Linked DNA regions of Homo sapiens: region 1 is linked to region 2. Evidence: promoter capture Hi-C in human tissues and cell types (Jung and others, 2019). All regions are on one chromosome and are shown on one strand. The core of a region is centred on a gene start or on the middle of the fragment in contact, and the rest is flanking DNA. Distances in the headings are between cores, read along the strand shown.

The links. The method cuts DNA at HindIII sites, captures the fragments that hold promoters and counts their contacts. A contact is called where the count stands out against the background at its distance.
Region 1: a fragment that was not itself captured here is called in contact with the fragment with the promoter of TUSC2 in region 2 in 1 of the 25 tissues and cell types used here (dorsolateral prefrontal cortex).

What each region holds. Positions count from the first base shown.
Region 1 is chr3:51,529,276-51,534,896 of GRCh38, forward strand. All of the region lies in intron 1 of LOC105377085 (a long non-coding RNA gene), which reads left to right. Among named protein-coding and RNA genes, the nearest start is that of RAD54L2, 6.6 kb to the right of the region's middle. The HindIII fragment of the contact is 4,554 bases long and covers 1-3,662 here.
Region 2 is chr3:50,324,157-50,329,701 of GRCh38, forward strand. TUSC2 (tumor suppressor 2, mitochondrial calcium regulator) reads right to left here and starts at 4,067. Exons shown (of 3, transcript NM_007275.3): 1 at 3,798-4,067; 2 at 2,201-2,321; 3 at 753-2,030. The coding sequence starts at 3,943. The coding sequence ends at 1,965. RefSeq lists enhancers at 1-283, 4,202-4,311 and a silencer at 492-681. The HindIII fragment of the contact is 5,713 bases long and covers 2,969-5,545 here.

The DNA.
Region 1 (5,621 bases), core at 136-2,635, 1.2 Mb after region 2:
TGAGCTGAGATTGTGCCATTGCACTCCAGCCTGGGCAACAAGAGTGAGACTTCGTCTCCAAAAAAAAAAAAAAAAAAAAAGTGGGCATCCTTGTCTTGTTTCTGATCTTAGAGGAAACAGTTTCAAGTTTTATCCTTAAACATGATATTAGTTATGAATTTTTCATATACAATCTTTATTATGTTTCTTCTATTCCTAGTTTGTTGAGTGCTTTTCTCATGAAAAGGCCAATTTAGATGCCTTTTTTTTCTTGCCTAATTGCTCTGGCTAGAACTTGCAATACATTCTGGTCTTATGGAGAAAGGGTACAAAGGTTTCAGTATTTCACCATTGAGTATGATTTAGCTGTGGGTTTTATATAAATGCCCTTTTTAGATTAAATAACTTTCTTTCTTTCTTTTTTTTTTTTCTGAGAGGGAGTCTCGCTCTGTTGCCCAGGCCAGAGTGCAGTGGCACAATGTCAGCTCACTGCAACCTCCACCTCCCGGGTTCAAGCGATTCTCCTGCCTCAGCCTCATGAGTAGCTGGGATTACTGGCGTGCACCACCATGCCTAGCTAATTTTTTATATTTTTGGTAGAGATGGGGTTTCACCGTGTTGGCCAGGCTGGTCTTGAACTCCTGACATCAAGTGATCTGCCCACCTCGGCCTCCCAAAGTGCTGGGATTACAGGTGTAAGCCAGTGTGCCTGACCAACTTTCTTTCTTTACTAGTTTGCTGAGTATTTTTATCATGAAAGCTGACCCTGCCACCAAAACTTTGGCTCTAAAGTGACTTGAGAGTGGCTACTGACTGAGCTGTTGGGAATCACTAGGGATGGTACATCCTGGCCTTCCCAGACAAACCCTCAAGTCCAGCTAGGACTACCTCTCTCTTGTCTTTCCTACATCCATGCCTTTTGTCATGCTATTCTTCAATCCGAGTCCTCCTCACCCTTAAAAGGACTTCTTCAGCAAGTCTTCTTCCTTTCACTACACTCCCACCTTGTGCATTCGCGAAGTCAGTAGTCAGGTTTAATTGTGCCTAGGAAGCAAGTACCTTGCCAGTGATAAGGTAGCCATGAGTAAGCTTGGGTTCCACATACCCAAAAGAATCCATCAGGGGCAATCCATTGTAGGCTGGTGTTCGTAGGATTGTTCCATAGTGCACTTAGGCGGGAGTATGTGGCATAAGGGTTAGTGGTATTTGTACAGTTCCAGGCTCTTTTTGATGGAACACAATTGAGATAGCTTAAGTTAGAGGGAGACCAGGCTCTGTGCGGTAACCTTGGCCACCACTTGGCTGTGGAGGTGTTGACTGTTAGGGTTTGGTGACAAGTGCTTTCACCTATGGTGCAACGGGTTTTACTAGTCCACTTGTGGGATATGCACACCATCCCTCTTACTGGGTTGGTAAGTGTTCAGGACTGCGGGCATTCCTGAGGAGTGAAAGTGAGGCTGTAGTTTTGGGATATTAGTAAGTAAGGGGGAATGTCTATGACATACCACGGCCACTGTTCACTCATACGGGCTCCCCTGCATACCCAGCAATTGGACACATTCATGGTAAGTGCGATGCGTTCTCCTAGATCTACAAACAGGTTTTTTTCCTGGCTTGGGAAGGGATACATCTCCTGGTAGTTTTTTATAAAGGGGTGGAAATACTATGGGTGGTTTTGGGGGGTAGCTGTCGGCTTTAGCTTTTGCTTTGGCTATAATCTGTTCTCTCTTTATGTCCTCTAGCACTTGAGTGTTTACTCCGCGTTGTCCAGTTTTGGTGAAACAAAGCCACTGCTTCCCTTTGCGGCATATAGCCCCATTATGGCATAATGGCATATAGCCCCATTACGACTGCCAGATACTCCTAGATGCTTTACTTTATAATAACTTTTCCCTGATTCAACACATTCTTTGACTAAGACTCCATAACAGGATCTTTCTATATGGGTATGGTAAGTAAAGGACTGTTGGATTTTTCCTCCATAGTAGAAAGACTGATAACACTCATGGCAGCTTGGAGGGCTGCTGTGGACAGCAGGGCGTCTACTGACAGCATTAAGACTGTGATGAGGGATATTTCCGTATTAAGACTTTTGGTTGGGGCCAGGCACAGTGGCTCATACCTGTAATCTCACCACTTTGGGAGGCCGAGGTGGGTGGATCATGAGGTCAGGAGTTCCAGACCAGGCTGGCCTACATGGTGAAACTCCATCTCTACTAAAGATACAAAAAATTAGCCTGGAGTGGTGGCACACATCTGTAATCCCAGCTACTCGGGAGGCTGAGGAAGGAGAATTGCTTGAACCTGGGAGGCGGAGGTTGCAGTGAGCCGAGTTAGCATCACTGCATTCCAGCCTGGGCAACAGGGCGAGACTCCATCTCAAAAAAAAAAAAAAAAAAAGAAGACTTGTGGTTGGAAGTGAGGCACAGCAAGCGGTTGGGTAGATACAGGCCATTTCTGGAAGCAGGTAATTAGTCTTCTCCATGTTTACACTTTCTAGGGGGTTTTTGGTTTTAAGAAAGTTTTTTGGTTAATTTAAGCTTGGTAGGAGAAATTGTGCTTGACGACCACTTAGCTGCTAATGTTTTGGAGGAAGACGTAGCCTTGGGGATGAGCTTGACCCTGGTGCGATGGATCCAGTTGGGGAATCTTTGGACTCTCACTGCAGCTGGTGTGCTGAGTATCACAGTGTAGGGGCCTGTCCACTTTGGTCGTAGCTTTTTGTGAAGGTCAGGTTGGCAGATGAACACGTCTGTTCCTGCAAGACAGTTATGTTGAGAGGACAAGGAGGTGTCGACAGGGAGAGGCATTGCCTCATTTGCTGCTTCATGGATGAAAGACCGTGTCTGGATTACGGAGGGGAGGTAATTCCTGAGTGGCTCAGAGTCTGGTGAGGATGGAGGCCCTAAGACAAAAGTTCGGCCATACATGATTTCGAAAGGACTATAAAAAGAGGGTGCTTTTGGTGTTGCGGTCTCATGATGGCAAAAGGGAGATTTCTTGTCCACGACAGATGGGTTTCTAGAGCTAGCTTGGTGAGTTGGGCTTTAAGGACAGAGTTGACTTTTTCAACTTTGCCTTGGCCAGGCATGGTGGCTCACGCCTATAATCCCAGCACTTTGGGAGGCCGAGGCGGGCGGATCATGAGATTAAGAGATTGAGACCATCCTGGCCAACATGGTGAAACCCTGTCTCTACTAAAAAAATACAAAAATTAGCTGGGCATGGTGGCGGGTGCCTGTAGTCCCAGCTACTCAGGAGGCTGAGGCAGGAGAATCGGTTGAACCTGGGAGGCGGAGATTGCAGTGAGCCAAGATCACACCACTGCACTCCAGCCTAGGTGACAGAGCAAGACTCCATCTCCAAAAATAAAAATAAAATAAAATAAAACTTTGCCTGAAGATTGAGCCCTGTAGGGTGTGTGGAGAACTCACTTTATTCCTCAGGATGTGGAGAACCCACTTTATTCCTCAGGATGTGGAGACACCTTAGATAAGGTGATGAAGGAGGGCCTGTTTTTGGACTAGATGGATGTTGGGAGTCCAAAACGGGGAATTATAGGCATGATGAGCGTTTGTGTGATGATATTTGCACCCTCTGAAGTTGTTGGGAATGCTTCTACCCACCCAGAGAAAGTACAAAGACTAGAAGATAGCGGAGCCATTTATCGGGCAGCATGTGAGTGAAATCTACTTGCCAATCTTGCCCGGGTATCTGGCCCTGGGCTTGGTGGGTAGGAAAAGGCAGTGGCTGGAGGGAACCTGGGTGTGACACTGAGTGGCAGATAGAGCAGGACTGGGTAATCTCTCAGACATGGCTGGAAAGGTGAGCACAAGTGAGAATAGGGCGGAGAAGTTGTAAGAGAGGTTTGTAACCGACATGAAAAGAGTTGTGGAGACTTTGGAGGATAGGAATTGTTTGAGAGTGAGGAAGAACGAAGTGCCCTTCCTTGACATACCGTGGTCCTTGCTTTTGGAGGTTCTGGGCCTGGAAGTCCTCCTTTTCTTCTGAGGAGGAAAGAGGAGAGAACAAGGACAGGGACAGAAACTGGCCTTGCATGGGTTATAGGGCTACTTGTTTGGCTACCTGATCTGCTAAAGCATTTCCGGCCGATATAGAATTGTCTGGGATTTGGTGGCCCCTGCAATGAATGATGGCAACTTTCTGTGGGAGACTGGCAGCTTGAAGGAGCTTGCTGATGAGAGAGCCATTTATGACACGAGTGTTTTTTGCAGTTAGGAAACCTCGTTCTTTCCAGATAGACGAGTGTGAGTGTACTTCATGGAACGCATAACGAGAATCCAAATATATGTTAATTTGTTGTCTGGCTGCTAGAGTGAGAGCTTGAGTGACAGCAATGAGTTCAGCTTTTTGGGAGGTGGTGCCTAGGAGGAGCGGAAAACCCCTGCCCCAGGTTTCGGCACCAGATGAAAGTTCTTGTATCGGTTCAAACCCCGAGAGCACGCCAATGGACAACACGAGGCGGTGTGGAGCAACACACTGTTTTAATGAGCGCCTGGGTGCAGGCGGGCTGAGGCCTAAAATGGCATCAGCCCCAAGTGAGGATGGGGCAGGGGTTTTATAGTCTCCTGTAAACAGGAAGTGTCCCAGTCTGACGTAACTGCTACGTGGTACCTGGGTGGCCTTTTTCTCGATCTTCAGAGTTACGTGTCTTCCGGCCAGGGGAGGTGTCTTCCGGCCTGGGTAGGTGTCTTCCGGCCGGCTCTCTTCCTGCTTCTGCTATCTTGCTGACGCACACTGCTAGCGCAAGTGGCCTTTTGCCTTGGGACTGGGCCTGAGAAGGGAGGAGTTACTCATCCCTTCAAGCTTTCAGGCCCTGGGGAGAATCTTTCACAGGGCAGTTATCTGGGGCTTCTCACTACACCTACACACCATGTTGCCCCCAAGTTCTGGTCCCTCTGCCTAGAATTCTTCTTCCCTGAGACTTTACATGGTTCTCGTTAGCATTCTTGGCATTCAGGATTCAGCTCACAGGACACCTCATTGGGTTGGTCTTACCCAATGCCTTCCCTCTTCCAACAGCCTCTCTCCCATACTGGTCTCTGTTTCGTGTTTTCAGAACTTATTAGAATTTGCAATTATTTTGTACTGTCTTTCTCACCTGTTTAGAAGGTAAGCTACTTGAGGGCAGAGACCTGTTCCCTCCTGTTTAGTGCTGTGTTCCCCAGGGCATATCAGCATCTGAAATACAACTGGGGAACAATAAACATCTGTTCATTTGAATGAACATCCATATAGGATAGGTTTCTATTAGTCACATTCTACAGACCACACTCTTCTAGGCTCAACTCTGAACATACTTCCTCATTCATGTTGGGGATGGTTATAAGCATGGGCTCTGGACCTAGATGATCTGCACTCAAACCCCATCGCTCTTCTGACTTCTCAGCTTATTTTTCCACCTTTGAAGTGGAATGTTGATGTGAGGATTAAATGAGTTAATAACTGTAAAATGCTTATGGTCATGCCTGTCATGTCTTACTAGTATTCCCCAGCATTGGGTACAGTGCCTGGTACATCTTTTATTTATTTATTTATTTATTTATTTATTTTTGAGACGGAGTCTCGCACTGTCACCCAGGCTGGAGTGCAATGGCGTCATCTCGGCTCACTGCAAGTTC
Region 2 (5,545 bases), core at 2,817-5,316:
AGCCTGTCCCTGAAATCTCCCCTCTTTAACTGGGAGTTGGACTGATAGTCAAAGCCTAAGCCTAGTAGAGAATCTGCCTTATAGCAGCCCCTGAGAAGTGCAGGCAGAATGACCACAGTGGGCAGGCTGCAGGTGATGAGAAGATGGGGGCAACAGACAGCAGGGGCAATACTAGTGGGCCGAGCCTTGCTTGCTGAAACAGCAGCCTGAGCTCATTCTCCCATGGTGTCCGCAGGCAGGCCTCAGAGGAGGCACATGAGTTTGGGTTGCTGAGCCTGGCAGTAGGCCAAAGGCGTGGGGACACCTATCTGGCTGCTGTCCATTAAAGCTGGGCCTTTGAGGTCCATGGGGGTCAGGCCATGACCCCACTTAGGATCAGCTGGCGATGCTACAGCTAAGACAGATATTCCAGAACTATCTTGGGTCACACTCTCTCACCTTAGATCAGGCAGGTGGGGCCAATCCTTAGTGAAGTATCCCAGGGCCTTCTGATTCCAAGGGTCACCACCACATGGATCACAACAGATAAATGAGTGCCCTCCCACCCTGCAGGGGGCCTGCAGTGAGGTCTGTGTGAACACACAGCCACCTGCTGGCCACAGTTGGGATGGCCACAGGCTGGGCTCAGACTTACTCTTGGGCTTTGCTGGTCATAGGGGGCCTGCCAGAGTCCTGTGCCAGGCCTACCTATTGAACCCAGGTGGTAGTCTAGACACTGGGTGTCAGAGCCCCCACAGGATGCCACTCTCATGTGCAGGATCTACAAATCATTTTATTGAAATTGAACAAATAACACAACAGTCTTCCTAAGCTAGGGGCCATCCTCCCCAAGCCATTTCCCACATTATAGAAGCACAGAGCTTGCACAGTACTTAAAAAAAAAGTCACCTCTATATAGAAATCAGACTCTGCCACGACATCATCATGGACTATTTACAAACCTTCACATTATAAGTATTCCTTTTATGGTTTTTCCCTCCTTTCTTTCCCTACCCAGGGGTTCTAGTGCTTTCCCTTGACTGATCCTGAAGGGGTGGGGGTTACTGTAAGGGAGGGGGTGGTAGGCTACTCATAACTACTGGCACCAGCCTTAGGGTGTTGTCCCTTACCACAAGGTGGTGAACAGTCCCCTCCCAATTGGAGGGGTGGAGGATTTGGTGCAAAGCCATGGAGATTAGACAGAATAGGTGGGTTGGAGTAACTCCCCATAGGCACAAGCATCCGCAGCCTGTCCTGACCCCAGCCTGCACTCTCTCAACTCCTCAACTGGGGGTTCGGGGTTGGGGGGCAACAGTTAGTTGCAGTAGGGGGATCAGCCCAGCCCTGGGTAGAGGGAGAAGCCCCCACCCAGTCCCCACTCCTATCAATAGCCAGCAAACTGTCCATCCATCTGAAGGCGGGAACAAATGGCAGGTAGGTCGGAAGAATCAGGCTGGCACTGCCCCCAGCCTCTGTCCAACACAGGAGGAATCGAGGTAGCAAACGGCTGAAATGCTCTGACTAGGGGTTAAAAGGGAAGTGAAGGAAAGGAAGTTCCTACTTGTATACAGTGCCCACAGCCTAGGGGCTGGAAGAAAGCATACCTTGCTTGTAAAGTGCTGTAGCCTCTAGCAGGGCTAGGCCCCAGGCAAACTTGGAAGAAAGCAGACCAGGCAAGGAACCAGGTAACGGGCATTCCTGACTGGTATATGCCCTGCTGTGCTGCTTGCAGGGGTGGCTTGGGAGAGTGGGGTGCTAACTCTGCCATTAGCCTTCACCACCCACCAACCACCTCTTGTCCACACACAAACCAACACCCAACCAATACTGTGGGACCGACCCGCTCACAGCTGAAGGTTATGGGCCAACAGAGTTTATTCAGGGTTGTGGCCCCAGCCTGGGCTCCTCAATGGAAGCCACACCTTGATTGAGCCTGGGAGTTTCTTGCCGGGGCAGGGGGTGCTTCTGTCTGCCACCTCCCAGGGTCACACCTCATAGAGGATCACAGGGAAATCCACGTGGATGCGGGGGTGATCCAGCTTCACGATGCCCTGCCATGGAAACAGAGGCTAGTAAGGGTCAGCTCAGGGCCTCTACTTCAGGAAGCTTCCTTGTTCCTCCCAGATCCCCCCGCAAAAGCCCCCACCATGACAACAGATCCCATCTGGGTCCACCTCCACACGCTTAGTGTAGGCTCTGTGACCGCTGCCCAGCCCCTCACCTGAGGAATCAGATTCTTATGCACTCGCCTCAGCTTGGCCCGCTTCTGCCCGTTCTTGGTGACGATTGTCTCCTCATAGAACTCGTGAGCCAGATCCCCATCCTCATCATAGAACATAGAGCTGTGTAGAGGGAGAAGGAAACAGGCTGGGCTGGAGCCCCACACCTGGGCATGGCAAATGTCACAGGTCACGGGGAAGTCTGTGGTCTTCCCAACCCCAAGTGGGAAGAAAAGAGGATAATATGCCTGGAGAATCCTTTTTTTAAAAAAAATTTTTCGAGACAGAATCTCACTCTGTTGCCCAGGCTGGAGGTGCAGTGGCGCGATCTCAGCTTGCTGCAACCTCTGCCTCCTGGGTTCAAGCAATTCTCCTGCCTCAGCCTCCCAAGTAGCTGGGACTACAGACATGCACCACCACACCCTGCTAATTTTTTGTATTTTAGTAGAGACGGGGTTTTGCCATGTTGCTCTGGCTGGTCTCGAACTCCTGAACTCAGGCAATCCACTCGTCTTCATCTCCCAAAGTGTTAGGATTACAGGCGTGAGCCACGGTGCCTGGCCTGCCTGGAGAATCCTTTGCCTGGGGTTTGGGGTCTACTAGAAGAAAGTGGGAAGTGAGGTGATGGGTGGGCAGTGCTACTATGTCAGACCCCCAAGAAGAGAGCCCACACCAGAGCACACCATCCAGGCAGCCACCAAGGCCAGTTCTCATCCTTGATTTGTTCAGCAAGGGCAGCCATTCTAATATCAGGACTTTGCCTTCACCCAGGACTTCTAGAGTGGGCAGGGTGGTGGCCTGGGCATGTTGGTCTCACTCCAGAAGATGCTGCTGGCCCAGTGTCAAAGACTGAAATAGCAGAAGCCTAAGCTAGGAAGAAGCACAAAGGAATGAAGGCTGCGTCTCCCCTGACCCCACACCCCAGGTGGCTGGTGAATTGCCACTGTTGGGTCTTCCTGGTGTCTACAGCCAAATCTCTAGCACAGGGAGCGCCCATCTCCAGGAGCCCACTAGAGCCAAGCCAATCTGGTACTCTTGTGCGGGCCTCTGGGAGACTGGGCTGGGGGTTGGGTGGGTAGGTCAGCGCTCTGGATCTGGAGAACATAACTGGGTGAGGGTCTTTTTTCCTCAGCCTCACCCCCAATACTGAGGCCTATCCCTGCTTTCCCAGCCACTACGCTCAAAGGTTCAGCCCCACTACTGTCAGGAAAAGCAGCCTAAACAGAGGGTTATTATCCCCTTGGAATAACTGGGGGGGAAAGGGAGGCTAGGACCCTTCAGTATGCAGGCTGAGCCGGAAGGGATGAAAGGAAGAGATCTTATGGAGGTCTTATGGAGGCCCTAGCTTAGCTTTACCGTGCGGAAGGTCCGACCAGTGACAAGCCTCAGGCCCACTCTTCCCTAGGGAGACTTTCAGAGTGGCCAGGCCGCCAGGAGACCACTGCCCGGCTTTCTCCACCCCCAGCTCCAATGAGGCTCAAAATATGGGGGTCGTCCTGGCTTGGCTGTAGTGGGGTACAGCGGTGGAAGTTCCCCCGTGGCGCGGGACGCCTGGCCGCCCGCCTGTTCCCCCCGCCAGGGTGGAACCCATGCCCTTACCCGCGGCGCGTGAATACGAAGGGGGGCACAGCTCGGCCCCGAGGCCGCACCAAAGCTTGCTCAGCTCCTGCTGCCTCTGAGCCGCCGCCTCCGGCCGCCGAGGCGAAGGGCCACAGGCCCCGAGCTTTGGACCCGCTGGCGCCCATGTCAGGGCCGCCGGCGCATGGCGGGCCCCGTGGCCGCTCTGCTCACACCGCAGTCCGCACTACCATAACCTGCCCCAGCCGCTGATCGCAGGTGCCGCCGCCGCCGCCTTCCGCAGGCTCGGCTGTCTCCACGGAAACCTCACTTCCGCTTCCGCACGCTGCCACCTCTGATTGGCTGTTGCTCAAGTCGTGGGGGCGGGACCAATGGGCGCCCTTAGATGCTGGGCATCCCAGCATGCGTTGCGAGATCCCAGGTCCCAGCAAGCGCGATCTGACCAGCTGGGACAGCTCCCACCGAGGAAAGTGGTGGCCGTGAGTCCTCCCGGTCTTTTGGGTGTATTTGGCGGCTCTGACGTCCCCCAACACCTGAGTTCAGGCCTAGCAGGACTTCGCAAGCACCAATCCTCAAACCTGCACTTCAGGGCCTAAGGCCAGACCGCCGGGTGCCCATCTGGCTTCTATTTTCACAGCTGTATTTTTGCGATTGCCACGCTTATGTGAACTAACCAAGTTGAAAGAAAATTAAGGAACTGGCCAGATTCACATAGTTACATTCAGTTCTGAAGAACTTCGAATTCAGTGTTTTCAAACCCAGCAGAGTCCATGCTTAATGAAAGCAAGAATTGTTAACAGCTATACCCTCGGTATCACGAGCAGTGTCTGGTCCACGGTGGCAGCTCTGTATTTGGTGAAGGAGTTATGCCACACCTTCTCCCAGAGCGTGGTGTGTGTGTGTTGAAGGGATGGTTTTGTTTTTTTTTTTTTTTGAGATGGAGTTTCACTCTTGTCGCCCAGGATAATGTGCAGTGGCACGATCTCGGCTCACTGCAGCCTCTGCCTCCAGGGTTCAAGCGATTCTCCTGCCTCAGCCTCCCGAGTACTTGGGATTACAGGCATCTGCCACCATGCCGGCTAATTTTTTTGTATTTCTAGTAGAGACGGGGTTTCACCATGTTGGTCAGGCAGTCTTGAACTCCGGACCTCAGGTGATCCACCCGCCTTGGCCTCCCAAAGTGCTGGGATTACAGGCCTGAGCCACTGCGCCCGGCCGTTTTTTTTTTTTTTGAGTTGGAGTCTTGCTCTATCGGAGTGCAGTGGTGTGATCTCCACTCACTGCAACCTCTGCCTGCCGGGTTCAAGCGATTCTCCTGCCTCAGCCTTCTGAGTAGCTGGGACTACAAGCGCCCACCACCACGCCCAGCTAAATTTTTTTTGTATTTTTGGTAGAGATGGGGTTTCGCCATGCTGGCCAGGCTGGCCTCGAACTCCTGGCCTCAAGTGATCTGCCCACCTAGCCCAACCAAAGTGTTGGGATTACAGGTGTGAGCCACTATGCCCAGCCAGTTTCCCTAAGTTCTAACTGCAGTCCATTTTTGTCTCCACCACAACCTGAGCCCCAGGGAGCTGAGTGATGACCAAGTATGTATGCATACTACATCTTCACAAATTGGTCCATGGTGACTTTGCAAGACACCTGGGAGCCTGTCCATCACCCTTGGCAACTTCTGGCACCATGAGGGGCAACTGCAGCTCTGCGCCTATAATAATAAAGAGTCCAGGCTGGGCAGGGTGGCTCACACCTGTAATCCCAACACTTTGGGA